Linked DNA regions of Homo sapiens: all the other regions are linked to region 1. The links are contacts of gene promoters, found by promoter capture Hi-C in blood cells and fetal thymus (Javierre and others, 2016). All regions are on one chromosome and are shown on one strand. The core of a region is centred on a gene start or on the middle of the fragment in contact, and the rest is flanking DNA. Distances in the headings are between cores, read along the strand shown. Region 1 holds the start of TRPV5 (transient receptor potential cation channel subfamily V member 5). Region 2 overlaps CASP2 (caspase 2). Region 3 holds the start of GSTK1 (glutathione S-transferase kappa 1). Region 4 overlaps LOC124901764 (a long non-coding RNA gene).

The links. Contacts are between HindIII fragments. The CHiCAGO score rates a contact against its expected background, and 5 or more counts as called.
Region 2: a fragment that was not itself captured here is called in contact with the fragment with the promoter of TRPV5 in region 1 in 1 of 17 cell types (neutrophils); the score reaches 7.4 in neutrophils.
Region 3: the fragment with the promoter of GSTK1 here is called in contact with the fragment with the promoter of TRPV5 in region 1 in 4 of 17 cell types (neutrophils, erythroblasts, monocytes and 1 more); the score reaches 9.1 in neutrophils.
Region 4: a contact is called between a fragment that was not itself captured here and the fragment with the promoter of TRPV5 in region 1, in 8 of 17 cell types (neutrophils, M0 macrophages, naive B cells and 5 more). The highest score is 8.8, in neutrophils.

What each region holds. Positions count from the first base shown.
Region 1 is chr7:142,932,384-142,935,111 of GRCh38, forward strand. It overlaps TRPV5 (transient receptor potential cation channel subfamily V member 5), which reads right to left and starts at 1,363. Exons shown (of 15, transcript NM_019841.7): 1 at 949-1,363. The coding sequence starts at 1,076. The HindIII fragment of the contact is 14,618 bases long and covers 970-2,728 here.
Region 2 is chr7:143,302,978-143,305,705 of GRCh38, forward strand. CASP2 (caspase 2) reads left to right here. Exons shown (of 11, transcript NM_032982.4): 9 at 807-956; 10 at 1,697-1,806; 11 at 1,963-2,728. The coding sequence ends at 2,094. Among named protein-coding and RNA genes, the nearest start is that of CLCN1, 12 kb to the right of the region's middle. The HindIII fragment of the contact is 3,319 bases long and covers 1-2,728 here.
Region 3 is chr7:143,262,033-143,264,760 of GRCh38, forward strand. It overlaps GSTK1 (glutathione S-transferase kappa 1), which reads left to right and starts at 1,409. Exons shown (of 8, transcript NM_015917.3): 1 at 1,409-1,553; 2 at 2,054-2,135; 3 at 2,516-2,644. The coding sequence starts at 1,482. All of the region lies in intron 2 of TMEM139-AS1 (TMEM139 antisense RNA 1), which reads right to left. It overlaps LOC105375546 (a long non-coding RNA gene), which reads left to right. Exons shown (of 3, transcript XR_007060569.1): 3 at 1,116-1,175. RefSeq lists a silencer at 1,227-1,296 and enhancers at 1,324-1,618, 1,437-1,656. The HindIII fragment of the contact is 19,965 bases long and covers 1-2,728 here.
Region 4 is chr7:143,202,729-143,205,456 of GRCh38, forward strand. LOC124901764 (a long non-coding RNA gene) reads right to left here. Exons shown (of 2, transcript XR_007060567.1): 1 at 448-2,728. Among named protein-coding and RNA genes, the nearest start is that of TAS2R40, 18 kb to the right of the region's middle. The HindIII fragment of the contact is 1,499 bases long and covers 583-2,081 here.

The DNA.
Region 1 (2,728 bases), core at 113-2,612:
GACAGTATGAGGGCTCAGAGGTACTTGGGACCAGGCCCAGTGTAAACTGCAAATGCAGGACCCCTTGTTCAAAATTATTAAGAACTTGAAGATGAGGACAGCAGGGCATTGAACAAAGCACAGGAATCTTCTGGAGTACAGGGGAGCCCTTTGTGACTGCTAATGTCTGCTCAACAACCTCACCCCTCAGGCAGCTGTTGGGTGGGAGGCAAGCCCCAAAACACTTGGAGGAAGAAGCAGCCCACAGGATTCGTCCCTGCCCCAGCTGCTCTTCCTGGGACTGGACCTCAGGGCTAAGCCATGAAATGATTTACCTGCAGGTGTGCTAGCCCTGCCCGAACTAAGAGCTCTCCAGGAGCAGGCACAAGTCTCATTCAATCTTTATGTCATTGGGATCTAACACCCCTCTGCACACAGTAGACTCAATAAAAGGCAGATGGACTGAACTCAGAGCCCTCCAGTGTCACCTGAGCTGCCCTCCTCCACTGGTCAGCACCCAGTGTTACACCAAACAAAGCGCTCCTCCCCTTTCCCACACAGTCCACTTTCATTCAAATGAATGGCGTTTCCTTATCGTGCTTCCACCACCCACAGGAGTGCATCCCTTCTTCAGCAGCCTGCTTCTGCCTTCCCTCCCCATCCCACACAACCTGGCTTCTTCCCTCTGGTCCTTTTTGGTCCTTTCACTCCCCCTTGGCTGTCATTCTGCCTCTGTCCTTAGGTCTACCCTCAAGATTTTCCTGTGTGGCCCAAAGCCACATCCTCCACCGCCACTAAAAGGGGCCAGCTGGGATTCTGTAATTAGGTGGGCTGGAAGGAAAGGGTATGTCTGAGTGACTGGCACTGACAATACACTTCTAGGGTGCTGTATTCGGAAAGCAGGCCCAGGTGGGTCAGAGGGTCTGAGGATCACGGCGGTAGGGCCACGGATCGTTCTAGGAAGCCTACCTCTTCTGCTGCAGCATATGAAGCTTGTCCAGGTGCTGGTCCCAGTCTTGTTCTCTGACCAGAAAGGAGGGCAGAAGTTTCTGGAGTTGGCTCCCGGGCCCTTCTGCCTTAGGTAGAAAACCCCCCATGTCTTCTCCTTGCAGACACTGGCAGATTATAGAAATGTGGCGAAAGAAACAGGTCTAGGATGACAGCAACTGAGCAAGAGATGGGGTCTATTTGGGGCTGGGACTCTGAGTTTATCTCCTGTATGACTTGTGTATGCAGCATGCAGCTTGTAGGTGTGTGTGTGTGCATGCAGTATGTGGGTTGTGGGGTGTGCGTGTATGCACAGTGTGTGGCTGTGGTGTATGTGTGTGCATGCAGTGTGTGGTTGTGAGGTGGTGTGTGTGCATGCAGGTGCGCTGAGGGGACTGACCGCCCTGCCTGGGGAGAAGTGCTTTTCCTGGAGGGGGAGGAGCTCTTTGCAGAGCTGAGCCCCACAGCCACAGAACCACCCTGGGGAAGAAAAGGAGGAGGGGAAGGAAGGTTCCTAACTGTGGGCTGGGATGGCTGAGACCCGAGAAGCTAAGAGGTGGGGCAGAGGAATTTGGAAAAAGAAAAGGGATGGAAGGTGGGTCCACAAACAAGGTGCACAGTTAGTTGCATGAGGGAGAGGAGGAAATAAAGACTTCCAGCTCAAGAGTCAGGCAGAGCCTGGTTCAAATCCTGACTCTTATCCCTTACAGTTAGGTGAGCTTTCTGAGCCTCAGTTCCTAACCTGTGAAATTGGGGTAACGGCTATGCCGTCTCACGGGAGCATCTGTAAAGCATGTGTCACAAGTACTCAATCACTGCCGATCCTCCTTCCACAAGAGGGCTCAAGAGACCCCCGGGCTGCTTCTCAGAGCTTCCCATTTATGTGTCTTGTGGTCATCTCTGTCCTCAACCCTGTACCTCAAAGGAGGGTTTCTGACCCCCACTTCCCAGGCCAATCCCTCTCTGTGAGAAGTCCTCATGACCGTGACCGGCCAGCTTCCTGGAGCGTCGCCGAGCAGGCTCTGGTACCTGGGGACGCAGGTCAGAGGAGCCCCCAGGGGCCTCGAGTTATTATGGAGGTTGAACAGCAGAAACTGAGCAAAGGTAGACGACAAATAAATCGTGATTCCATGTTTGGGACTCTTTCCAGGAATGAAACACCAGGAGGAATAAGTAATGTTGCACTATTTTATATATTTTATATTATATTTTATATATTAAGTAGTTTCCCTTATCCACAGTTTCACTCTCTGATGGTTCAGTTACCTAAGGTCAGCCACAGTTGGAAAATAGGTGAGTACAGTACTATAACATATTTTGAGAGACAGAGAGAAAGAGAACATTCACATAACTTTATATTATTATAATTTTCATTTTATTGTTGTTAAACTCTTTTTTTTTTTTTTTTGAGACAGAGTTTCACTTTCGTTGCCCAGGCTGGAGAGCAATGGTGTGATCTTGGCTCACTGCAACATCCACCTTCCAGGTTCAAGTTATTCTCCTGCCGCAGCCTCCCTAGTAGCTGGGATTACAGGTGCCCACCACCACGCCTGGCTAATTTTTGTATTTTTAGTAGAGACAGGGTTTTACCATGTTGGCCAGGCTAGTCTCGAACTCCTGACCTCAGGTGATCTGCTTGCCTCGGCCTCCTGAAGTGCTGGGATTACAGGCGTGAGTCACTATGCCCGGCCTAAACTCTTCACTGTGCCTAATGTATAAATTAAACTTCATCATATGTATGTATGTATGTATGTATGTATGT
Region 2 (2,728 bases), core at 82-2,581, 370 kb after region 1:
ATAAGGCCAGGTGCAGTGACTCATGCCTATAATCCCAACACTTTGGGAGGCCGAGGCAGAAGGATCACTTGAAGCCAGGAGTTCAAGACAAGCCTGGTCAACGTAGCAAGACCCCATCTCTATTAAAAAAAGAAAAAAAAAGATTTAAAAAGTTATTTTAAAAAATAAATTAAAAATTTTTTTTCTTAAATCTTGGATGCTTGCTATAATTTATCTTATGAAATTAATAAACATAGTGCTTCGAAGATATCAAAACCACCTTGGAAACAACTGATCATACTTAGTTTTATTATTTTTTGATACATAGTTCGAGGTTGTGATTTTTATATAGCATACATATGGTAACCGTATTTGTTATTTATTACCTTGTTTTTTCTTGTTTATGTAATTAAATATATCAATATTTTATTATGTATTGCAATAAAAAGCACTGTGACTCCCAGGCATATTGTTAATTGAACAAGTGAGTTGTGGACTTAGATGATTTTCAGTTCCATTTACAAGGAGTATTTGATTTGGCATTTTCCCTGTCTTACACAGAATGGGAACTGCTCCAACCGCATAGATGTGCATGTGCTTGAGCGTGGTGCCCGGTGTGTATGAGGCATCCCCTGAGTAACAGATGCATGCTGAGAGAGTAATAATTTTTTTTTTTTTTTTTTAGTTTATCAGCCATAGGTTGGAGGCAACAGCTGGAAATGGCTCTTCCCCTTCAAGGTTGTAGGGAACGTGGGCTTGCCTGTGACAGGCCCAAGAGAGATAGGAAGAAGTAACATCATTGTCCATTCTGTCTGCCTTTGTTACAGATGAGACTGATCGTGGGGTTGACCAACAAGATGGAAAGAACCACGCAGGATCCCCTGGGTGCGAGGAGAGTGATGCCGGTAAAGAAAAGTTGCCGAAGATGAGACTGCCCACGCGCTCAGACATGATATGCGGCTATGCCTGCCTCAAAGGTACTTTGAGTTCCAAAAGAGTTGAGTCATACCTCATTTTGTTGCACTTTGCTTTATTGTGCTTTGCAGGTACAGGTTGAGTATCCCTTATCTGAAGTGTTGGAACCAGAAGTGTTTCAGATTTTGGATTTTTTTGTTTTTTTGGATTTTGGAATATTTGCGTTATACTTACTAGTTGAGTATCCCGTATCCAAATATTCTAAATTTAAAACACTCCCATGAGCACCTTCTTTGAGCATCATATTGGCACTTGGAAAGTTTCAGATTTTGAAGCATTTCAGATTTTTTGGATTTGGGATGCTCAGCTGCTTTTTACAAATTGAAGGTTTGTGGCAATCCTTTGAGCATCTGTCAGCACCATTTTTCTATTGGCATGCCTCTGTTAGCATTTTTCAGCAATAAAGTATGTTTTAATTACAGCATATGCATGTTTTAGACATAATGTTGTTGCACACTTAATAGACTGTAGGATAGTAACCATAACTTCCGTATACACTGGGAGACCTGAAAATTTGTATGACTTGCTTTATTGCCATATTCACTTTCTTAAGCTGGTCTGGAAACAGACCTACGGTATCTCCAAAGTATGCCAATAATCCAAAAGAGTACCCTCCTAGACTTAGATTCTTCATGCTGGGTTCTCTGACTAGGGAGGGTGCAGGTGTCATGGCCGAGTCTAGTTTGGGAAGTGCAGCTGTGTGATGGCATTCACACTGTGATTAATGCCCTTTTGGTTGCAGGGACTGCCGCCATGCGGAACACCAAACGAGGTTCCTGGTACATCGAGGCTCTTGCTCAAGTGTTTTCTGAGCGGGCTTGTGATATGCACGTGGCCGACATGCTGGTTAAGGTGAGCCAGCGGGCTCCGTGACCCCTGTGTGTCTCCACAGTGCTCTACTTTCCTCCTCTCTTGAATGCTCTTTCATAGTCCGTCTCCCCTTCCCGTTTGCTGCTCTCCTGAAGCCCGAGATTCTCAGACTTGGGCCTATTGGTTCTGCCCCTCCAGGTGAACGCACTTATCAAGGATCGGGAAGGTTATGCTCCTGGCACAGAATTCCACCGGTGCAAGGAGATGTCTGAATACTGCAGCACTCTGTGCCGCCACCTCTACCTGTTCCCAGGACACCCTCCCACATGATGTCACCTCCCCATCATCCACGCCAAGTGGAAGCCACTGGACCACAGGAGGTGTGATAGAGCCTTTGATCTTCAGGATGCACGGTTTCTGTTCTGCCCCCTCAGGGATGTGGGAATCTCCCAGACTTGTTTCCTGTGCCCATCATCTCTGCCTTTGAGTGTGGGACTCCAGGCCAGCTCCTTTTCTGTGAAGCCCTTTGCCTGTAGAGCCAGCCTTGGTTGGACCTATTGCCAGGAATGTTTCAGCTGCAGTTGAAGAGCCTGACAAGTGAAGTTGTAAACACAGTGTGGTTATGGGGAGAGGGCATATAAATTCCCCATATTTGTGTTCAGTTCCAGCTTTTGTAGATGGCACTTTAGTGATTGCTTTTATTACATTAGTTAAGATGTCTGAGAGACCATCTCCTATCTTTTATTTCATTCATATCCTCCGCCCTTTTTGTCCTAGAGTGAGAGTTTGGAAGGTGTCCAAATTTAATGTAGACATTATCTTTTGGCTCTGAAGAAGCAAACATGACTAGAGACGCACCTTGCTGCAGTGTCCAGAAGCGGCCTGTGCGTTCCCTTCAGTACTGCAGCGCCACCCAGTGGAAGGACACTCTTGGCTCGTTTGGGCTCAAGGCACCGCAGCCTGT
Region 3 (2,728 bases), core at 159-2,658, 330 kb after region 1:
TCCTCACAACTCGTCATAAGGCAGGTGTTATCATTAGATATTCCCCATGTGTATGCAGGATGAGGAAATAGGTTCAGAGAGGTCAAGTGGCTCACCCAAGGGGCACAGCTAAGTGAAAGGCACTGCAGGCATCTCAAACTACCCCCTTCCCACAAGACTCCACTGCAGAGCAGGACAGTCACCCTGACACCAGCCCAATGGGTTCATCTTGCCCATTACCCAGATGGGGCTAATTTATCAAGACAAGGGAATTGCAATAGAGAAAGAGTTTAATACACATAGAGCCAGCTAAACAGGAGACCAGAGTTTTATTATTACTCAAATTAGCCTCCCAAAATTCGGAGGCAGAGGCTAGGGGACTTTGTGGGTTTTTTTGTTTTTGTTTTTGTTTTTCTTTTGAGAGGGAGTCTTGCTATGTCACCCAGGCTGGAGTGCAGTGGCATGATCTCGGCTCACTGCAACCTCTGCCTCCCGGATTCAAGCAATTCTCCTGACTCAGCCCCCCGAGTAACTGGGATTACAGGCACATGCCACCATGCCCGGCTAATTTTTGCATTTTTAGTAGAGACAGGGTTTCACCATGTGGGCCAGAGTGGTCTTGAACTCCTGACCTCAAGTGATCCACCCACCTCAGCCTCCCAAAGTGCTGGGATTACAGGCGTGAGCCACCATGCCCGCCGGCTAGAGTTTTTTAATGATAGTTTGATGGGCAAGGGGCTAGAGAATGGGTGCTGCTAATTGGTTGGGGATGCAATCACAGGGGTGTGGAAAACCGTCCTCAGTGCACCGAGTTGCATTTGGATGCGGGCCACAGAGGAGTCACTGGTCCAGGTGGAGTCATCCTGTCATTAGAAATGGAAAAGTCTGAGAAGGTATCTTCAAAGGCCAGTCTTAGGTTCTACAAAAGTGGTTATTTACAGGAATAATTGGGGAAGTTGCAGAGCTTGTGACCTCTGGAACAATGTCTGGTAATTGTTAATGCCTACATCTTAGCAGAATTCAGGCCCCTCTCATAATCCTAAACTTGTGGACTTTTATTAGTTTTATAAAACTGGTTTAGTTTGGGGAAGGGCTATTATCATTTAAACTATAAACTAAATTTCTCCCTATATTAGCTCGTCCCATGCTCAGGAATGACCAAGGGCAGTTTGGAGGTTAAAGGCACGATGGAGTTGGTGAGTTCAGATCTGTTTCACCTTCGTAATTTTCTCACTGTTAAAATTTTTGCAAAGGCGATTGCAGCGCCCCTTGTCCACACCTGCGCGCTCCCCAAGGGGTCCCTACCCACCCCGCCCCTGGCTGGGGGCCGTAGGCTGGCCCTGCCCCGCTGCGCCGGAGGTGGACCTCTACCAGGGCAGTTTCTCTCTGAGGCTGCGCGCTAAGGCGGTGGGCGGTCCCAGGCAGGCCCAGAAGCTGGGCAGCCTCTGCCGGGTTCCGGGAAAAGGAGCTCCTGCTGCCACTGCTCTTCCGGAGCCTGCAGCATGGGGCCCCTGCCGCGCACCGTGGAGCTCTTCTATGACGTGCTGTCCCCCTACTCCTGGCTGGGCTTCGAGGTGACGCTGGGAGGGGTCGCCTCGGCAGTGTCTGGGGAGTGAGGGCGGAGGGAAGAGTGAGCGCAGGGCTCCGGGACAGAGGTCTCGTGTAACTCCTGGCGCCGCCCAAGGGGTTAAGGCAAGCAGGGAGAGCTCCGGGGCTGAAGGTCACTTTGTGCTTTTAAACGGAATAGAGTCGCTGGCTCCAACCCGAGCCTTTATATCCCGACTGCAGTTTCCCACGGTGGTGGAAAGAGGGGCGGCTCCAAACATTCAGGGAGAAATGCAGAACACGGCCACCTCTTAGCCCAACGATGGCAGTTTTGGGGAAAACTGGCCACAGGAGCGAAGATCCTGGAATAGATTTCTAGTAGTGAGGAGAGTTTTGCCAATTTCAAACCAAACAATGTAGGGTGTCCGCATAACCCCTGCTCTGCACTTAGCGCCTCCCTTCCCTTTCCCTCGGCTCTTTCACTTTTCCATCTTGCACACTGGCAATCGTTCTTGACCTCTGCCCGCAGATCCTGTGCCGGTATCAGAATATCTGGAACATCAACCTGCAGTTGCGGCCCAGCCTCATAACAGGGATCATGAAAGACAGTGGTAGGAAGGGAGGGTCGGGGCAGGGGTGATCTCAGTGGCCCAAGAGAGCCGACCCCAGCGGGTCCTTATATTGGCACTGGCAGCCAGAAAGCTGCCCTCTGCCCCGTCTCTACTAAAAATACAAAATTAGCCGGGCGTGGTAGTGCATGCCTGTATACCACAGCTACTCGGGAGGCTGAGGCGGGAGAATCGCTTGAACCCAGGAGGCGGAGGTTGCGGTGAGCTGAGATCGCACCATTGCACTCCAGCCTGGGCAACAAGAGCGAAACAACAAGAGAAAAAAAAGGAAGCTGCCCTCTGCCCAAAACCCACGTCGAGGTCCCCAAACCTGGGACCCTTAGGTCTTTTCTCACTTAGCGTGCCCAACCTTCTCCTGGCAGGAAACAAGCCTCCAGGTCTGCTTCCCCGCAAAGGACTATACATGGCAAATGACTTAAAGCTCCTGAGACACCATCTCCAGATTCCCATCCACTTCCCCAAGGATTTCTTGTCTGTGATGCTTGAAAAAGGTGAAGAGAGTGGGATGTAGACAGGGTATCCAGTGAAAAACACAGAAGTCGGAGATTGAGGGATTGATAGGATGGAGGGGCTGC
Region 4 (2,728 bases), core at 82-2,581, 270 kb after region 1:
CCACCACATTCCCAGAGGCCCATGACATGCATATTCTGAGCATCCTTTACTCCACTTCATCTACAATATGCTTTTTCTGATTGTCCACAACCAAGAAATAGGATGAAATCTCCAGTCTGCTCTTGGCCATCCTCATTCCCTTCTCTTTAGTGTTATGATATTTTTTTCTCTATGGAGTCTCAGAAGAAAGGGAAGTAGTGAACACATTATTTAAAAAATCAAATCAAAACCTTATACATACTTTTTTTTTATCATACAAGAACCTCTGGGTCTATTTCAGAAGCTTAATATTTGGTGCCCAAAATATTTTATCCTGGACAATCTTATATTGCACAAATCTTAATTCAGAGTCATAAAAGTCCCCCAAACTGGCTTTTTAAGCTGGTGCATAAACCCCATTGATGATAGTCTTATCCTATTTTTGTTTATGCTCATGTGCTTTCTCACCTGTTAAGAAACTTGCTAATTCTATTATGCGACTCTCTGGCAAAGCTTATCAAAGCTTCAAATTAATTAAGCAGTGGCAGCTCCCAATTTCCTTTTCTTACTGGCAAAAATTTGTTTCACAGAAAATGTTTAGAAAGCTTAAGTTGGTAACAGCTGATTGTTGACCTGGAAATAAGAGGTCTTCATCAATATGTTAAGCGGTCAGGATACTTAAAGAAAAACATCTATGGAGACTTCTTAGCATGCACTCTAGGCAAATACTTGCTGTCCTTCACCATTATTTCAGGATTTTTTTTTCCTAAAAGCATAAGAACAAACACATAAATGATAAAAGCAGAATTTAGGCCAACTCTAGCTTGCCTGCCAAGTAGGTAAGATGCGGTGGCAGAATACTGGCTACACTTGTGCCTGTATCACCATGGAGACCCTACTCTGACCATCAAATAATGGGATTCTAATGAGGAATGCTGCTGAACAACAAGCATGGCTGAGCACAAAGACAGAGCTGCTGGCATTGGAACATGGGAGTGAGCAAGAAAGGGGCAGCCCAAGGGAGAAGAAAAGGTGACACTGAACGTAGGTGTCGTGATGAGAAGAAAATAGGTTGCAGGTGGTGACTGCCTGGAGACCAGCCCAAATCACCTTCCACCTTTACGTGGAATCCAGGCTCAAAGCAGGAGGGACAAACTTGAGTGGGATAAATGTGACATGAAATGAGTCAGTTTGCCCAGAATATGTTTTTACCTATGAGGTGGATTGCATGGGATGGGGGAGGGGGGCTTGTAGGCAGGAGGGGCTGGGTCATGGAAATTAAATGAATTACTTTCCTAATGTGCATTGTTGTTTTTTTTTTTTTTTACACAATTGGTTCACAAAATAAAAAATTAATCCTTACTTTATGTATGAGCTCATCTGGGATTTTGAAATAGCCTCCTGATGCACATCTGTACTTAGACCAATTCTAAATCCTGGACTAGAATTTTGAGTAAAATCATCTCCAGGCAAGAGCCAGGACCAGTGAGAGCTGAGAGGCTCAAGAAGTGATGAGAATAGATTAGATGAACCCTCACTGCTGATATCAGAATTAGAAATGAATTATAACAAGGCTGAGTTTCAAAGAGAAATGCCCAGGATGGGGTCAGGATGCACCTTTCTCTCTCTCCATACAAGCTCTCCCTGAGGGGTCTCCTCTATTCTAAGTGCTCAGGTCCCCTCACAAGCCAATGGCTTCCAAACTTGTGTTTATCTCATCTCTTGCTCTTGATCTCCAGGCCTCTCTACCCACCAACAATCCCTTCTCCTATATATATATTTTTGGGCCCAAATTTTTGCTAAGTGAATTGTTCTGGCTCTAACTATCCTCTCCTTTGCAAATGAGAGGTCTTTCATTCTAAGAATTATCATGGGCCGGCATTTGTAGCTGACATTGAAAATAAACCTCCCCCCTCCCCAGAACTGCCTATAAGATGTGATTTTCTGAAAACCTGCAGGCCTTGGGAATGCAAATCAGAGAAAGATCCAATTGTCACCAACACTTACCAGGGAACACTGCCATTTGCATCTGCACTCCAGATCCCCGGTGGCTGCAAATATATCAGTGGCTCATTCAAACCAGAGCCCAGGCACAGATTGAAAGCTTGAGTGGAGGTGGATTTGGAAAGAGGAATGAAAAGGACACAGCTCTGGAAACTGGGGGGAATGAGCCCGTGTCACTGCCAAGATGGAAGGGTAGGCAGTGCATTCCCACATGTCTGACCCTAAGATTTCAAATTTCATTAGTAGCATCTCCTTTAGCTCAACCTAACTACAAGGAGAACGAGAAATACAAGGAAGTCCCTGCCATGTTTGGGGAGCATTTTTATCTCTGCCCCAGCATCTCCCATTTTCTGCTGAACTAAAAACCTTTCTCTTTCTCAAGATATGTGGAAAAGGAAAAGGAGAAATAAGGAATATCTCTTACTTTAGTCCTTCATTTTTCTAGCTTCCCAACTCTCCAACTCAGACTCTCGCTCTGACCCCCAAGTCAAATATGGCAGGTAGCACTGCCTTCTTTAGGGGTCTTCCAGATTATGCTACCACCACCACCACCACCACCACTCCACTTTTCAGAAACATGTGGGTTTCCACTTGTCAAAAATAAAACAACCCTCTTGATCATTATAGACTTGGGGTCTTGGCTAGAGAACAAATGAAAACAGAATTAAGAACAAAGAGGCGGGGCATGGTGGCTCAAGCCTGTAATCCCAGCACTTTTGGAGGCTGAAGCAGGTGGATCACGAGG